Regions from separate parts of the Homo sapiens genome. Here region 1 is linked to region 2. The links are contacts of gene promoters, found by promoter capture Hi-C in human tissues and cell types (Jung and others, 2019). All regions are on one chromosome and are shown on one strand. Each heading gives the region's core, a stretch centred on a gene start or on the middle of the fragment in contact. The rest is flanking DNA. Distances are from core to core; before and after follow the strand shown. Region 1 overlaps FLG (filaggrin). Region 2 holds the start of CRCT1 (cysteine rich C-terminal 1).

The links. The method cuts DNA at HindIII sites, captures the fragments that hold promoters and counts their contacts. A contact is called where the count stands out against the background at its distance.
Region 1: a fragment that was not itself captured here is called in contact with the fragment with the promoter of CRCT1 in region 2 in 2 of the 25 tissues and cell types used here (aorta and bladder).

The regions. Positions count from the first base shown.
Region 1 is chr1:152,306,827-152,314,511 of GRCh38, reverse strand. FLG (filaggrin) reads left to right here. Exons shown (of 3, transcript NM_002016.2): 3 at 1-7,685. The region is part of intron 3 of CCDST (cervical cancer associated DHX9 suppressive transcript); the gene reads right to left. Among named protein-coding and RNA genes, the nearest start is that of FLG, 15 kb to the left of the region's middle. The HindIII fragment of the contact is 4,044 bases long and covers 1-3,272 here.
Region 2 is chr1:152,508,566-152,515,785 of GRCh38, reverse strand. It overlaps CRCT1 (cysteine rich C-terminal 1), which reads right to left and starts at 1,304. Exons shown (of 2, transcript NM_019060.3): 1 at 1,234-1,304; 2 at 1-424. The coding sequence starts at 402. The coding sequence ends at 103. It overlaps LCE5A (late cornified envelope 5A), which reads right to left and starts at 4,983. Exons shown (of 2, transcript NM_178438.5): 1 at 4,788-4,983; 2 at 3,609-4,272. The coding sequence starts at 4,251. The coding sequence ends at 3,895. The HindIII fragment of the contact is 6,327 bases long and covers 1-4,311 here.

The DNA.
Region 1 (7,685 bases), core at 1-2,500, 200 kb after region 2:
CTCAAGTCTGGAAAGAAGAAACAATAGAAAAGGGAATAAGGGAAGATCCAAGAGCCCAAGAGAAACAGGGGGGAAAAGGCATGAATCTAGTTCTGAAAAAAAAGAAAGAAAAGGATATTCACCTACTCATAGAGAAGAAGAATATGGAAAAAACCATCATAACTCAAGTAAAAAAGAGAAAAACAAGACTGAAAATACTAGATTAGGAGACAATAGGAAGAGGCTAAGTGAAAGACTTGAAGAGAAAGAAGACAATGAAGAAGGAGTATATGATTATGAAAATACAGGAAGAATGACTCAAAAATGGATACAATCAGGCCATATTGCCACATATTACACAATCCAGGATGAAGCCTATGACACCACTGATAGTCTATTAGAAGAAAACAAAATATATGAAAGATCAAGGTCATCTGATGGCAAATCATCATCTCAAGTGAACAGGTCAAGACATGAAAATACAAGCCAGGTACCATTGCAGGAGTCCAGGACAAGAAAGCGTAGGGGATCCAGAGTTAGCCAGGACAGGGACAGTGAGGGACACTCAGAAGACTCTGAGAGGCACTCTGGGTCGGCTTCCAGAAACCATCATGGATCTGCGTGGGAGCAGTCAAGAGATGGCTCCAGACACCCCAGGTCCCATGATGAAGACAGAGCCAGTCATGGGCACTCTGCAGACAGCTCCAGACAATCAGGCACTCGTCACGCAGAGACTTCCTCTCGTGGACAGACTGCATCATCCCATGAACAGGCAAGATCAAGTCCAGGAGAAAGACATGGATCCGGCCACCAGCAGTCAGCAGACAGCTCCAGACACTCAGCCACTGGGCGCGGGCAAGCTTCATCTGCAGTCAGCGATCGTGGACACCGGGGGTCTAGCGGTAGTCAGGCCAGTGACAGTGAGGGACATTCAGAAAACTCAGACACACAATCAGTGTCAGGCCACGGAAAGGCTGGGCTGAGACAGCAGAGCCACCAAGAGTCCACACGTGGCCGGTCAGGGGAACGGTCTGGACGTTCAGGGTCTTCCCTCTACCAGGTGAGCACTCATGAACAGCCTGACTCTGCCCATGGACGGACCGGGACCAGCACTGGAGGAAGACAAGGATCGCACCACGAGCAGGCACGAGACAGCTCCAGGCATTCAGCGTCCCAAGAGGGTCAGGACACCATTCGTGGACACCCGGGGTCAAGCAGAGGAGGAAGGCAGGGATCCCACCACGAGCAATCGGTAAATAGGTCTGGACACTCAGGTTCCCATCACAGCCACACCACATCCCAGGGAAGGTCTGATGCCTCCCATGGGCAGTCAGGATCCAGAAGTGCAAGCAGACAAACACGAAATGAGGAACAATCAGGAGACGGCACCAGGCACTCAGGGTCACGTCATCATGAAGCTTCCTCTCAGGCTGACAGCTCTAGACACTCACAGGTGGGCCAGGGACAATCATCGGGGCCCAGGACAAGTAGGAACCAGGGATCCAGTGTTAGCCAGGACAGTGACAGTCAGGGACACTCAGAAGACTCTGAGAGGTGGTCTGGGTCTGCTTCCAGAAACCATCATGGATCTGCTCAGGAGCAGTCAAGAGATGGCTCCAGACACCCCAGGTCCCATCACGAAGACAGAGCTGGTCATGGGCACTCTGCAGACAGCTCCAGAAAATCAGGCACTCGTCACACACAGAATTCCTCTAGTGGACAGGCTGCGTCATCCCATGAACAGGCAAGATCAAGTGCAGGAGAAAGACATGGATCCCGCCACCAGCTCCAGTCAGCAGACAGCTCCAGACACTCAGGCACTGGGCACGGACAAGCTTCATCTGCAGTCAGAGACAGTGGACACCGAGGGTCCAGTGGTAGTCAGGCCACTGACAGTGAGGGACATTCAGAAGACTCAGACACACAGTCAGTGTCAGGCCATGGACAGGCTGGTCACCATCAGCAGAGCCACCAAGAGTCCGCACGTGACCGGTCAGGGGAAAGGTCTCGACGTTCAGGGTCTTTCCTCTACCAGGTGAGCACTCATAAACAGTCTGAGTCCTCCCATGGATGGACAGGGCCCAGCACTGGAGTAAGACAAGGATCCCACCATGAGCAGGCACGAGACAACTCCAGGCACTCAGCATCCCAAGATGGTCAGGACACCATTCGTGGACACCCGGGGTCAAGCAGAAGAGGAAGGCAGGGGTCCCACCACGAGCAATCGGTAGATAGGTCTGGACACTCAGGGTCCCATCACAGCCACACCACATCCCAGGGAAGGTCTGATGCCTCCCGTGGGCAGTCAGGATCCAGAAGTGCAAGCAGAACAACACGTAATGAGGAACAATCAAGAGACGGCTCCAGGCACTCAGGGTCACGTCACCATGAAGCTTCCTCTCATGCCGACATCTCTAGACACTCACAGGCAGGCCAGGGACAATCAGAGGGGTCCAGGACAAGCAGGCGCCAGGGATCCAGTGTTAGCCAGGACAGTGACAGTGAGGGACATTCAGAAGACTCTGAGAGGTGGTCTGGGTCTGCTTCCAGAAACCATCGTGGATCTGCTCAGGAGCAGTCAAGACATGGCTCCAGACACCCCAGGTCCCATCACGAAGACAGAGCCGGTCACGGGCACTCTGCAGACAGCTCCAGACAATCAGGAACTCCTCACGCAGAGACTTCCTCTGGTGGACAGGCTGCGTCATCCCATGAACAGGCAAGATCAAGTCCAGGAGAAAGACACGGATCCCGCCACCAGCAGTCAGCAGACAGCTCCAGACACTCAGGCATTCCGCGCAGACAAGCTTCATCTGCAGTCAGAGACAGTGGACACTGGGGGTCCAGTGGTAGTCAGGCCAGTGATAGTGAGGGACATTCAGAGGAGTCAGACACACAGTCAGTGTCAGGCCATGGACAGGATGGGCCCCATCAGCAGAGCCACCAAGAGTCCGCACGTGACTGGTCAGGGGGAAGGTCTGGACGTTCAGGGTCTTTCATCTACCAGGTGAGCACTCATGAACAGTCTGAGTCTGCCCATGGGCGGACCAGGACCAGCACTGGACGAAGACAAGGATCCCACCACGAGCAGGCACGAGACAGCTCCAGGCACTCAGCGTCCCAAGAGGGTCAGGACACCATTCGTGCACACCCGGGGTCAAGGAGAGGAGGAAGGCAGGGATCCCACCATGAGCAATCGGTAGATAGATCTGGACACTCAGGGTCCCATCACAGCCACACCACATCCCAGGGAAGGTCTGATGCCTCCCATGGGCAGTCAGGATCCAGAAGTGCAAGCAGACAAACTCGTAAGGACAAACAATCAGGAGACGGCTCCAGGCACTCAGGGTCACGTCACCATGAAGCTGCCTCTTGGGCTGACAGCTCTAGACACTCACAGGTGGGACAGGAACAATCATCGGGGTCCAGGACAAGCAGGCACCAGGGATCCAGTGTTAGCCAGGACAGTGACAGTGAGAGACACTCAGACGACTCCGAGAGGTTGTCTGGGTCTGCTTCCAGAAACCATCATGGATCTTCTCGGGAGCAGTCAAGAGATGGCTCCAGACACCCTGGGTTCCATCAAGAAGACAGAGCCAGTCACGGGCACTCTGCAGACAGCTCCAGACAATCAGGCACTCATCACACAGAGTCTTCCTCTCATGGACAGGCTGTGTCATCCCATGAACAGGCAAGATCAAGTCCAGGAGAAAGACATGGATCCCGCCACCAGCAGTCAGCAGACAGCTCCAGACACTCAGGCATTGGGCACAGACAAGCTTCATCTGCAGTCAGAGACAGTGGACACCGAGGGTCCAGTGGTAGTCAGGTCACTAACAGTGAGGGACATTCAGAAGACTCAGACACACAGTCAGTGTCAGCCCACGGACAAGCTGGGCCCCATCAGCAGAGCCACAAAGAGTCCGCACGTGGCCAGTCAGGGGAAAGCTCTGGACGTTCAAGGTCTTTCCTCTACCAGGTGAGCTCTCATGAACAGTCTGAGTCCACACACGGACAGACTGCACCCAGCACTGGAGGAAGACAAGGATCCCGCCATGAGCAGGCACGAAACAGCTCTAGGCACTCAGCATCCCAAGACGGTCAGGACACCATTCGTGGACACCCGGGGTCAAGCAGAGGAGGAAGGCAGGGATCCTACCACGAGCAATCAGTAGATAGGTCTGGACACTCAGGGTACCATCACAGCCACACCACACCCCAGGGAAGGTCTGATGCCTCCCATGGGCAGTCAGGACCCAGAAGTGCAAGCAGGCAAACAAGAAATGAGGAACAATCAGGAGACGGCTCCAGGCACTCAGGGTCACGTCACCATGAACCTTCCACTCGGGCCGGCAGCTCTAGACACTCACAGGTGGGCCAGGGAGAATCAGCGGGGTCCAAGACAAGCAGGCGCCAGGGATCCAGTGTTAGTCAGGACAGGGACAGTGAGGGACACTCAGAAGACTCTGAGAGGCGGTCTGAGTCGGCTTCCAGAAACCATTATGGATCTGCTCGGGAGCAGTCAAGACATGGCTCCAGGAACCCCAGGTCCCATCAAGAAGATAGAGCCAGTCATGGGCACTCTGCAGAGAGCTCCAGACAATCAGGCACTCGTCATGCAGAGACTTCCTCTGGTGGACAGGCTGCATCATCCCAGGAACAGGCAAGGTCAAGTCCAGGAGAAAGACATGGATCCCGCCACCAGCAGTCAGCAGACAGCTCCACAGACTCAGGCACTGGGCGCAGACAAGATTCATCTGTAGTCGGAGACAGTGGAAACCGAGGGTCCAGTGGTAGCCAGGCCAGTGACAGCGAGGGACACTCAGAAGAGTCAGACACACAGTCAGTGTCAGCCCACGGACAGGCTGGGCCCCATCAGCAGAGCCACCAAGAGTCCACACGTGGCCAGTCAGGGGAAAGGTCTGGACGTTCAGGGTCTTTCCTCTACCAGGTGAGCACTCATGAACAGTCTGAGTCCGCCCATGGACGCACAGGGCCCAGCACTGGAGGAAGACAAAGATCCCGCCACGAGCAGGCACGAGACAGCTCCAGGCACTCAGCGTCCCAAGAGGGTCAGGACACCATTCGTGGACACCCAGGGTCAAGCAGAGGAGGAAGGCAGGGATCCCACTATGAGCAATCGGTAGATAGTTCTGGACACTCAGGGTCTCATCACAGCCACACCACGTCCCAGGAAAGGTCTGATGTCTCCCGTGGGCAGTCAGGATCCAGAAGTGTCAGCAGACAAACACGTAATGAGAAACAATCAGGAGACGGCTCCAGGCACTCAGGGTCGCGTCACCATGAAGCTTCCTCTCGGGCCGACAGCTCTAGACACTCGCAGGTGGGCCAGGGACAATCATCAGGGCCCAGGACAAGCAGGAACCAGGGATCCAGTGTTAGCCAGGACAGTGACAGTCAGGGACACTCAGAAGACTCTGAGAGGTGGTCTGGGTCTGCTTCCAGAAACCATCTTGGATCTGCTTGGGAGCAGTCAAGAGATGGCTCCAGACACCCTGGGTCCCATCACGAAGACAGAGCCGGTCACGGGCACTCTGCAGACAGCTCCAGACAATCAGGCACTCGTCACACAGAGTCTTCCTCTCGTGGACAGGCTGCGTCATCCCATGAACAGGCAAGATCAAGTGCAGGAGAAAGACATGGATCCCACCACCAGCTCCAGTCAGCAGACAGCTCCAGACACTCAGGCATTGGGCATGGACAAGCTTCATCTGCAGTCAGAGACAGTGGACACCGAGGGTACAGTGGTAGTCAGGCCAGTGACAGTGAGGGACATTCAGAAGACTCAGACACACAGTCAGTGTCAGCACAGGGAAAAGCTGGGCCCCATCAGCAGAGCCACAAAGAGTCCGCACGTGGCCAGTCAGGGGAAAGCTCTGGACGTTCAGGGTCTTTCCTCTACCAGGTGAGCACTCATGAACAGTCTGAGTCCACCCATGGACAGTCTGCGCCCAGCACTGGAGGAAGACAAGGATCCCATTATGATCAGGCACAAGACAGCTCCAGGCACTCAGCATCCCAAGAGGGTCAGGACACCATTCGTGGACACCCGGGGCCAAGCAGAGGAGGAAGACAGGGGTCCCACCAAGAGCAATCGGTAGATAGGTCTGGACACTCAGGGTCTCATCACAGCCACACCACATCCCAGGGAAGGTCTGATGCCTCCCGTGGGCAGTCAGGATCCAGAAGTGCAAGCAGAAAAACATATGACAAGGAACAATCAGGAGATGGCTCTAGGCACTCAGGGTCGCATCATCATGAAGCTTCCTCTTGGGCCGACAGCTCTAGACACTCACTGGTGGGCCAGGGACAATCATCAGGGCCCAGGACAAGCAGGCCCCGGGGATCCAGTGTTAGCCAGGACAGTGACAGTGAGGGACACTCAGAAGATTCTGAGAGGCGGTCTGGGTCTGCGTCCAGAAACCATCATGGATCTGCTCAGGAGCAGTCAAGAGATGGCTCCAGACACCCCAGGTCCCATCACGAAGACAGAGCCGGTCATGGGCACTCTGCAGAGAGCTCCAGACAATCAGGCACTCATCATGCAGAGAATTCCTCTGGTGGACAGGCTGCATCATCCCATGAACAGGCAAGATCAAGTGCAGGAGAGAGACACGGATCCCACCACCAGCAGTCAGCAGACAGCTCCAGACACTCAGGCATTGGGCACGGACAAGCTTCATCTGCAGTCAGAGACAGTGGACACCGAGGGTCCAGTGGTAGTCAGGCCAGTGACAGTGAGGGACATTCAGAAGACTCAGACACACAGTCAGTGTCAGCCCACGGACAGGCTGGGCCCCATCAGCAGAGCCACCAAGAGTCCACACGTGGCCGGTCAGCAGGAAGGTCTGGACGTTCAGGGTCTTTCCTCTACCAGGTGAGCACTCATGAACAGTCTGAGTCCGCCCATGGACGGACCGGGACCAGCACTGGAGGAAGACAAGGATCCCACCACAAGCAGGCACGAGACAGCTCCAGGCACTCAACGTCCCAAGAGGGTCAGGACACCATTCATGGACACCCGGGGTCAAGCAGTGGAGGAAGGCAGGGATCCCACTACGAGCAATTGGTAGATAGATCTGGACACTCAGGGTCTCATCACAGCCACACCACATCCCAGGGAAGGTCTGATGCCTCCCATGGGCACTCAGGATCCAGAAGTGCAAGCAGACAAACTCGTAACGATGAACAATCAGGAGACGGCTCCAGGCACTCAGGGTCGCGTCACCATGAAGCTTCCTCTCGGGCCGACAGCTCTGGACACTCGCAGGTGGGCCAGGGACAATCAGAGGGGCCCAGGACAAGCAGGAACTGGGGATCCAGTTTTAGCCAGGACAGTGACAGTCAGGGACACTCAGAAGACTCTGAGAGGTGGTCTGGGTCTGCTTCCAGAAACCATCATGGATCTGCTCAGGAGCAGCTAAGAGATGGCTCCAGACACCCCAGGTCCCATCAAGAAGACAGAGCTGGTCATGGGCACTCTGCAGACAGCTCCAGACAATCAGGCACTCGTCACACACAGACTTCCTCTGGTGGACAGGCTGCATCATCCCATGAACAGGCAAGATCAAGTGCAGGAGAAAGACATGGATCCCACCACCAGCAGTCAGCAGACAGCTCCAGACACTCAGGCATTGGGCACGGACAAGCTTCATCTGCAGTCAGAGACAGTGGACACCGAGGGT
Region 2 (7,220 bases), core at 55-2,554:
GGGCAAACTCCGAGGCCCAGCCCCGCGTGGGAGCCGCAGCGGGGCGGGCCCGCTCTGGGCTGGGCGGGTTTCTCTAGCGCAGCGCTGGGGGTTGCGGGCCTCTCAGCAGCCGGAGCAGCATCCTGAGCTCCGGTTGTTGGAGCGCTGGGACCTCTGGCTGCCGCCCCCGCAGCAGCAGCAACCACTACTCCGCTGTCGGCGGCGTCTCCTTGGGAAGCAGCAGCAACTGGTGGAGCTGGAGCCGCAGCAGCCTGAGTCGCCGCAGCAGCCCCTGCCGGAGCCGCAGCAGGAGGAGGAGGAGGCGGGCGCCGGGGTGGGCGCCGGGGCGGGACACGGAGCGGGGCCCTGGGACGACCCCTTGGAAAAGCCTTTGGCGGAAACGGCGCTCTGTTGAGAGGACATCGCGGAGCTCCTCACGACAAACCTGGAAGAAAGGCAGCCTTTCAAAGGCGAGCCGGCTTTTTCTTTCCACCAATGGAACTCTGTCTGGGCTTTTGAGATTCGGCTTAGTGTACAAGTCAGCCTGGCCTGGGACAAGGAGGGAAAAGCACCCAGAAAGAGCGGACGCAAAGAAGCAAATCCAAGCAGGTGTTTCCAGTGAGTTAAACATGCTCAGAGCAGGACACAATCCATGCAATGAATCAATGCATTTCCATTTTCTCTGACTAGAAGAAGACTGCTCAAGTTCTCCACAGTGGAAAATAAACAGCACACTGCGGCAACTTATCTGTATGATCCAGTCCAAAATCTCCACTTGGCTTTTTTCTTGTCCCTCATTTTACTTTCCTACCGACCTTCGACTGTATCTTCCTAGTTACTACACCCCCATCAGTTAGAAAACACCCAAGTCCAACAGGCGGTCCCACCTGCTGGGTCTAAATAATCCACAGGCCAGAAGCATGTCCTGATCATTCTTTCTTGCCTACGCCTCTCATGCCCCACAACCATGTGGGAAAGGAGAGTTGTGCCAATATAAATAACCCCATCCAGGGAGCTGAAAGACCTGGGTTCTAGTCACAGCTCTTCTGCGGACTTGCTGTGTACCCTTGCAAAAACCACCTCCTATGTTGCCTTTATGTCCTCATTAGTACCTTAAGAGGTTGGCTCACTAGAAGCGTAGGTGCCTTGCGGGACACCCCTTCCACATCTATCTGCTGCCTGTGTTCTGTTTGCTCCTCCCCTGTGCCCTCAACTCATCCCACCCTCTCCCCCAGACCCTGCTAGGAGACTTACCAGACCCTGGCTCCACTGAAAGACTCACTACGTTCTCCAACTGGAATGGGCCACCTGCTAGGCAGTGGATTGAGCAGCGTCCAGCCAGAGAACCTTTTTATAAGAAGTATTCAGGTTCAGGCTCTTGGGAGGGGCCCATTTCCCAACAGACGTGCTCAGCTGACACTCACATCCCAGAGACATTCATCACTCAGGTAGCATTGTAGGTGGTGCATGTGGGCATCTAAGTCACTTCACAGAGGTGCCAGGATTGCTATGGCATGTTTACTTTCCAAACAGGGCACTGTTTGTACCTGGGAGGCTGTGTGTATGCTAAGAGAGGGCATGGGGCTCAAATGCAGGGAGGTCTGGAACCCCTGCCCTTGTCTTCAATACACACACACACACACACACACACACACACACACACACACACAGACGGCTCCACTTGCCCACACATCCATTCCTATGTAGTCATCTACTTGGTAGGTGGTAGTTCACCTATTTTTATCTTGATTCTCATCTCTCTGGCTCTTGGTCCTTGGCTCCCCAGGGCAGACCACAAGCTATGCGATAAGCCTGCTGGGTTTCATCCATATGCTTCAAGATGCAGTGAGTGAAGATGATGACGGGGATGCACCTTTGGGAACCCCAGGGGTGATTTCTCTCTGTCACTGGAGACAGGAAGAAAAACCTAGGCAAAGTTAAGGAACCATAAGACCAGAAAAGTTGTGAATGTAGTCAGGTTGCCATATCCCCATAATACAGCATGGTATGACAAAGAGAAAAATGTGTGCAGGACAGTGGCCCAATTGCAAAAAGGCTAGTCAGCCTGTGGGACTCCTGCTTCTTATCCCACCCCCAACCACCAATCTGCCTTTGAAGATAAGTTCTCCCTAGGGCCACTGCCCAGTGCAAAAGAAAATGGGAAAGGAAGAAGGGAGGGAGGGAAAGAAGAAAAAAAAGAGAAAGAAAGAAAGAAAGTTCTTTCCAAAGGTCCAAAGTGTTCATGATAGATAGTGTTTTCAGAATAACTAATTTTTAAGAATTGGAGGATACTTTGGCAGTCAACTTCAGAACTGCTTCTTAATCAAATTGCCCACAACTGTGAATGTGAACTATAACAGAAGTCCAAGACTAAGAATTCAGGAATTAAGGATGAGAGACAGGTTTGGGGGCGAGTGAGCTGGGAGTGGCTCAAGGGACTAGGCGAGGAAAGATAAGTCACAAAAGATACCAGTTTCATTTAACATGGATTTAGAGCCTGATTAACAGGTTGCCAGTTCCTAGAGCACCTGTTGGTGAGTATAGGTGAGACATTCCAAAAAGTAAAGTCAATATTAGAACAGAGAAGGAAGTAATGAAATAACAAGACAGAGGCAGGATCTCCTCTGGGAAAATGGGCAAAGTTCTTTTAAAAAAAAAAAAAAAGAATGAAGAACGTTTGGTAGGAATCAGTATAAGGAGATAATCTGGGCAAGTGCCTACTCATTCTGTGGGCATCCTATGATCTCATAAACCAGCTTACTTTATTTATCGCTATTAACTCTTATCAAAGGAGGCATCAATTGTTTATCTTTTATATTAAAGGCTGATTTGGAATTAACTTTTCTAGTTATCTTTTCTAGGTACATTATGAGTGTCTCCTGAAGGAACCAGCCCATTCCTAAAGAAATGTTGCTTGGAAAACCCAACACAGGGACCAAAACCCCTGTACTCTTATACCTCTCACTGCACACACACACACACACACACACACACACACACACACGTACGTCCCAACCACATAGAGACAGTCTTTGCAAAGAAGGGTGTCTTTCTCAGTTCTTTACCCAGATTCAAATCCAGGATTTCAGCATGCAGGGAAAATGTGCTCAGACGTTTCATATCTGCCTCCAAAACTCACTCACTGCCCACCCAGCTCTCCCTCTAGCCAACTGATGGAAACACCTGAGCTTATAATAATCAGAAAAGTAAAGAGTGTCCATTTATTAGAGCCCAGGATGAGCACTTCAGGCAATCTTATTCCCCATGAATGGGGACAAGCAATTTTTCAAACTGTGACCCATGCTTGAAGGAAACCCTCTCAGAACCTGAACCTTTTGAGTACAACCATCCTCTTCTCTTCAAACCCATTCCTGGCTCTCCTCATACAATCTTGTGTCTGGCGTAATGGTCTCAGACATTATTCTTTCCTTCAAGCTTAAAGTTCCAGAATCCAGTGCATAGAAGGAAATATTGTTTTCCAGAGGCCTAAGTAGCTTCACTGCCAAAATGTGCTTCCTAAACAAGTTTGTAAAGTGTTCGCTTGCATTTAAGAGAAGGGAAGGGAAGATGGCTTGATGCAGCAGGTAGGGAGTGGGAGAGGCAAACAATGAAATCAGGAGGCAGTGATATCAGGAATAAAAAGCTTTATTGTTACAGAGAAAATAGCTTCATAACTGAATTACAACACCTAGTTCTCCAAAGAGCTATGTCTGAGAGGGAAAGCCAGGCCAGAAAATATCACAAGCTAGACTTCAACCCTACAATGGAGTGAACATGGGCAGGATAAAGAGGGGAACTTAAGGCATTTCCGAAGTCCTTCCATGGGAAATGAGAGAAAAGAAGCCTCAGGCTGACACACATCTTCAGCACCTGGGATCTGCCAGTCCTTCTCCTCCGTGCTCCTCATGGCCCAGGTCAGCAGCAGCCTCCAGAGCTGTGGCAGCAGCCAGAGCCCCCAGAGCTGTGGCAGCAGCTGGAGCCCCCAGACTGCTGGCCACTGCCACTGCCACAGCAGCTGGAACTCTGAGGTCGGCGTCGGAGGGACTGGCGGGGCCTGTGGTGGCTCAGGCAGCAGCCACCACCCTCAGAGCTGCAGCAGCCCCCAGAGCTGGAACCACAGCAGGAAGAGACTGGAGGTGGGCATGGGGCTGAACACTGGGGAGGGCATTTTGGGGGACACTTGGGAGGACACTTAGGAGTACACTTGGGAGGGCATTTAGGGGTACATTTGGGAGGAGGCTGGCACTGCTGCTGGCTCTGCTGGCAGGACATCTCTGTAGAAGCTGAATAAAGCTGAAAGACAATACAAGCCCAAGGTCACTTCCTTGCCCTTAAAATTGAACTATAATTTCACAAGATTTTATCTCTAAGATGACCAGAATTTATTATTATGATTATTATTATTATTTGGGATGGAGTCTCACTCTGTCACTCAGGCTGGAGTGCAGTGGTGCTATCTCGGCTCACTGCAACCTCCACCTCCCGGATTCAAGTGATTCTCCTGCCTCAGACAGGTGTGCACCACCACACCCAGCTAATTTTTGTGTTTTTAGTAGAGACGGGATTTCAGCATGTTGGTCAGTCTCGAACTCCTGACCTCTTGACCCGCCCACCTCAGCCTCCCAAAGTGCTGGGATTACAGGCATGAGCCACTACTCCTGGCCTAAGATGAACCAGATTTTAAAAACCCAGTCTCCCAAGACCAGTAACAAGAATGATACAAATGATTTCCACCTAGTAACTCCATATTTTCAAATGAATAACTTGGAACTTCAGAAAGGCATCAGTCCTTCATTCCTTTTACCTACCTTCCACCCTCCCCTTCCAGAAGAACCTTCCCCTCCAAAATCCTTCTTTATCCTTGTCTTTCTTCAAGAATGGCCTCAACCTCCACCCAGGGGCTCTTTCTGCCCAAAACACCAGCACCAAGAGTTCATCCTGGTCCTGAGAAGCACTCTACCTGGTTCAGGCACTGCAGCAGATCACTCAGGAGACAGGTAGACTGAGGTGCTGTCAGAAGCTTCTGCCTTTTATACAATTCAGTCCTGACCTAGCATCAGGAGGTGCAGACCATGTGCGGGACGCTAGAAGCATCTTTCATAAAGGCATGGGTGACTCCCTCCCCTCGCATCCCAGGGACCCAGTTCCTCCCTGCATAAGCATCTCAAGTATTAACCCACAGGAAGATCCCCTGAGAACTGCAGGCCTCTAGGATGGTGAGGGAGCTCTGTGAATTGCACATGGCACCTATCTATCTCACAGGCAGCTCTGCTATGCCTTCTATTTTCTGAGCTGGGCCAATACGGCTCTACACCTCTGGAATGAACAGAAGTTCTGTTTTCTCTTTGGTATAGGAACTGAAGGAGAAAATTCCCAAGATGGAAATTAAATGGCCCTTTTTAGAATAATAATAGAGATCCAAAATAAAATTGTAGGCCCAAGCAAATAATCTAACATGATTTTTTTTTCATTTCTAGATGATGCCATAACCAGAACAAGGAAGGTTTGATATCTCAGTGATGTTATTTTAGGCAGATCTAATGCTGACAGTGTGGGTGGTTGGGCTTCTCTCCTTGCCTGAATTTGATGCTCCAAAACTGCTCACAAACAGTACCGATTCAGCACTAACAATGCCTTTAAAAGGGCAGAAGTCTAGGAATGGCTTATTTACTCGTGTTAAAGAAGGTGCCCTTGGCCAGCTCGAGGTGAGGCAGCAAAGACCAGGTGTATACTGAGGGTGGAGCAAAAGCTCTCCACTCATCTGGAGGTTTCCAGAAGTGAGGCACCAGTTCTGGTCATTCATAAGAGAAGAGCATCCAACCTGGGAAGGACCTCAGGAGAAGATTAATCTTTGGATGGAGAGGTGAAGAGGAGGAGTATATAGGTTTTAAAAGCCCATGGTGGGATCCAAAACATTTTCTCAGCAAACAATATTCTGAGGGAAAGTTGGGTCCCCAGGATAGTTATCAAAATTGACTTAGCTGGAAAGGGTGGCCAAAATATGGCATATTCACAATGAAAGCTGCAGTGAGAGAAAATAAGACTGGGAGAAAAAGGCAGTACCTTAGCTCCATGCTCTTTGAAATGGGCTGCAGTGAGAAGCATCAGCCCAGTTATAACACAGACCCTGGAGAGGGACATCCAGCATCAGTTCCCACCCTTGCTCTCTCCACCTGTGCAACCTCTGGCAAGTTACTTAACCATCACTGGAAAAGGGGGCTGAAAACATTCCTAATCCACTGAATAAAGAAATACAGATGAAGTTCTTAGCACAGTTCCTAGAACTGCAAGTTTAAAAAAGAAAAAACTAATCACTATGGCTATCCTTATTTCCATGAGAAAATATATGCTAAATTTCAAATTACTGACCTGCCAATTTTGAAACCAAAACTAATTTTTATGATATCAGAACTTAGACTCGATGTTTTCTTACAGCAAAATATTAAGAGTATTTGCTTGTCACTAGGGAATGAGATTATAAAGAAAGCATACTCATTATTTAAAAACACCAAAAAATAGGAAGAATTTTAAAATCACCTATAATCCCATCCCTAAAATATGGTTACTATTTTGCTATTTTCCTTCCCGTCATTTTTTTCTATATATAGTGGTTTTGTTGTTGTTGTTGTTATTTGAGTTTTGTTTGTATTTTACATAGTCTTTCTCATAGTACTTACATGAGTTTACTTTACTAACTTTTCACTTAACATTTTAACATCAACATTTCCCATGTTATTCGTTGTTTGGAAGCATTATTTTTGGTAGCCATAAGAACATTTCATGAAGGGCACAGAATCTATTTATAAGTGGTTGGGAGCGTGAGTTCTTTTTTTTTTTTTTTGAGACTGAGTCTTGCTCTGTCACCCAGGCTCGAGTGCAGTGGTGCGATCGATCTCTGCTCACTGCAAGCTCTGCCACCTGGATACACGCCATTCTTCTGCCTCAGCCTCCCAAGTAGCTGGGACTACAGGCACCTGCCACCACGCACGCCCGGCTAACTTTTTGTATTTTTAGTAGAGACGGGGTTTCACTGTGTTAGCCAGGATGGTCTTGATCTCCTGACCTCGTGATCCACCCACCTCGGCCTCCCAAAGTGCTGGGATTACAAGTGTGAGCCACCGTGCCCGGCTGGGAGCGTGAGTTCTAAATCCAGTCTCTGGGTTTGAATCCCAACTCCCCACTTACCAGTGGTGTGACTTTGAACAAGTGATATGAGCTTTCCACCTCACTGTCCTCGCCTG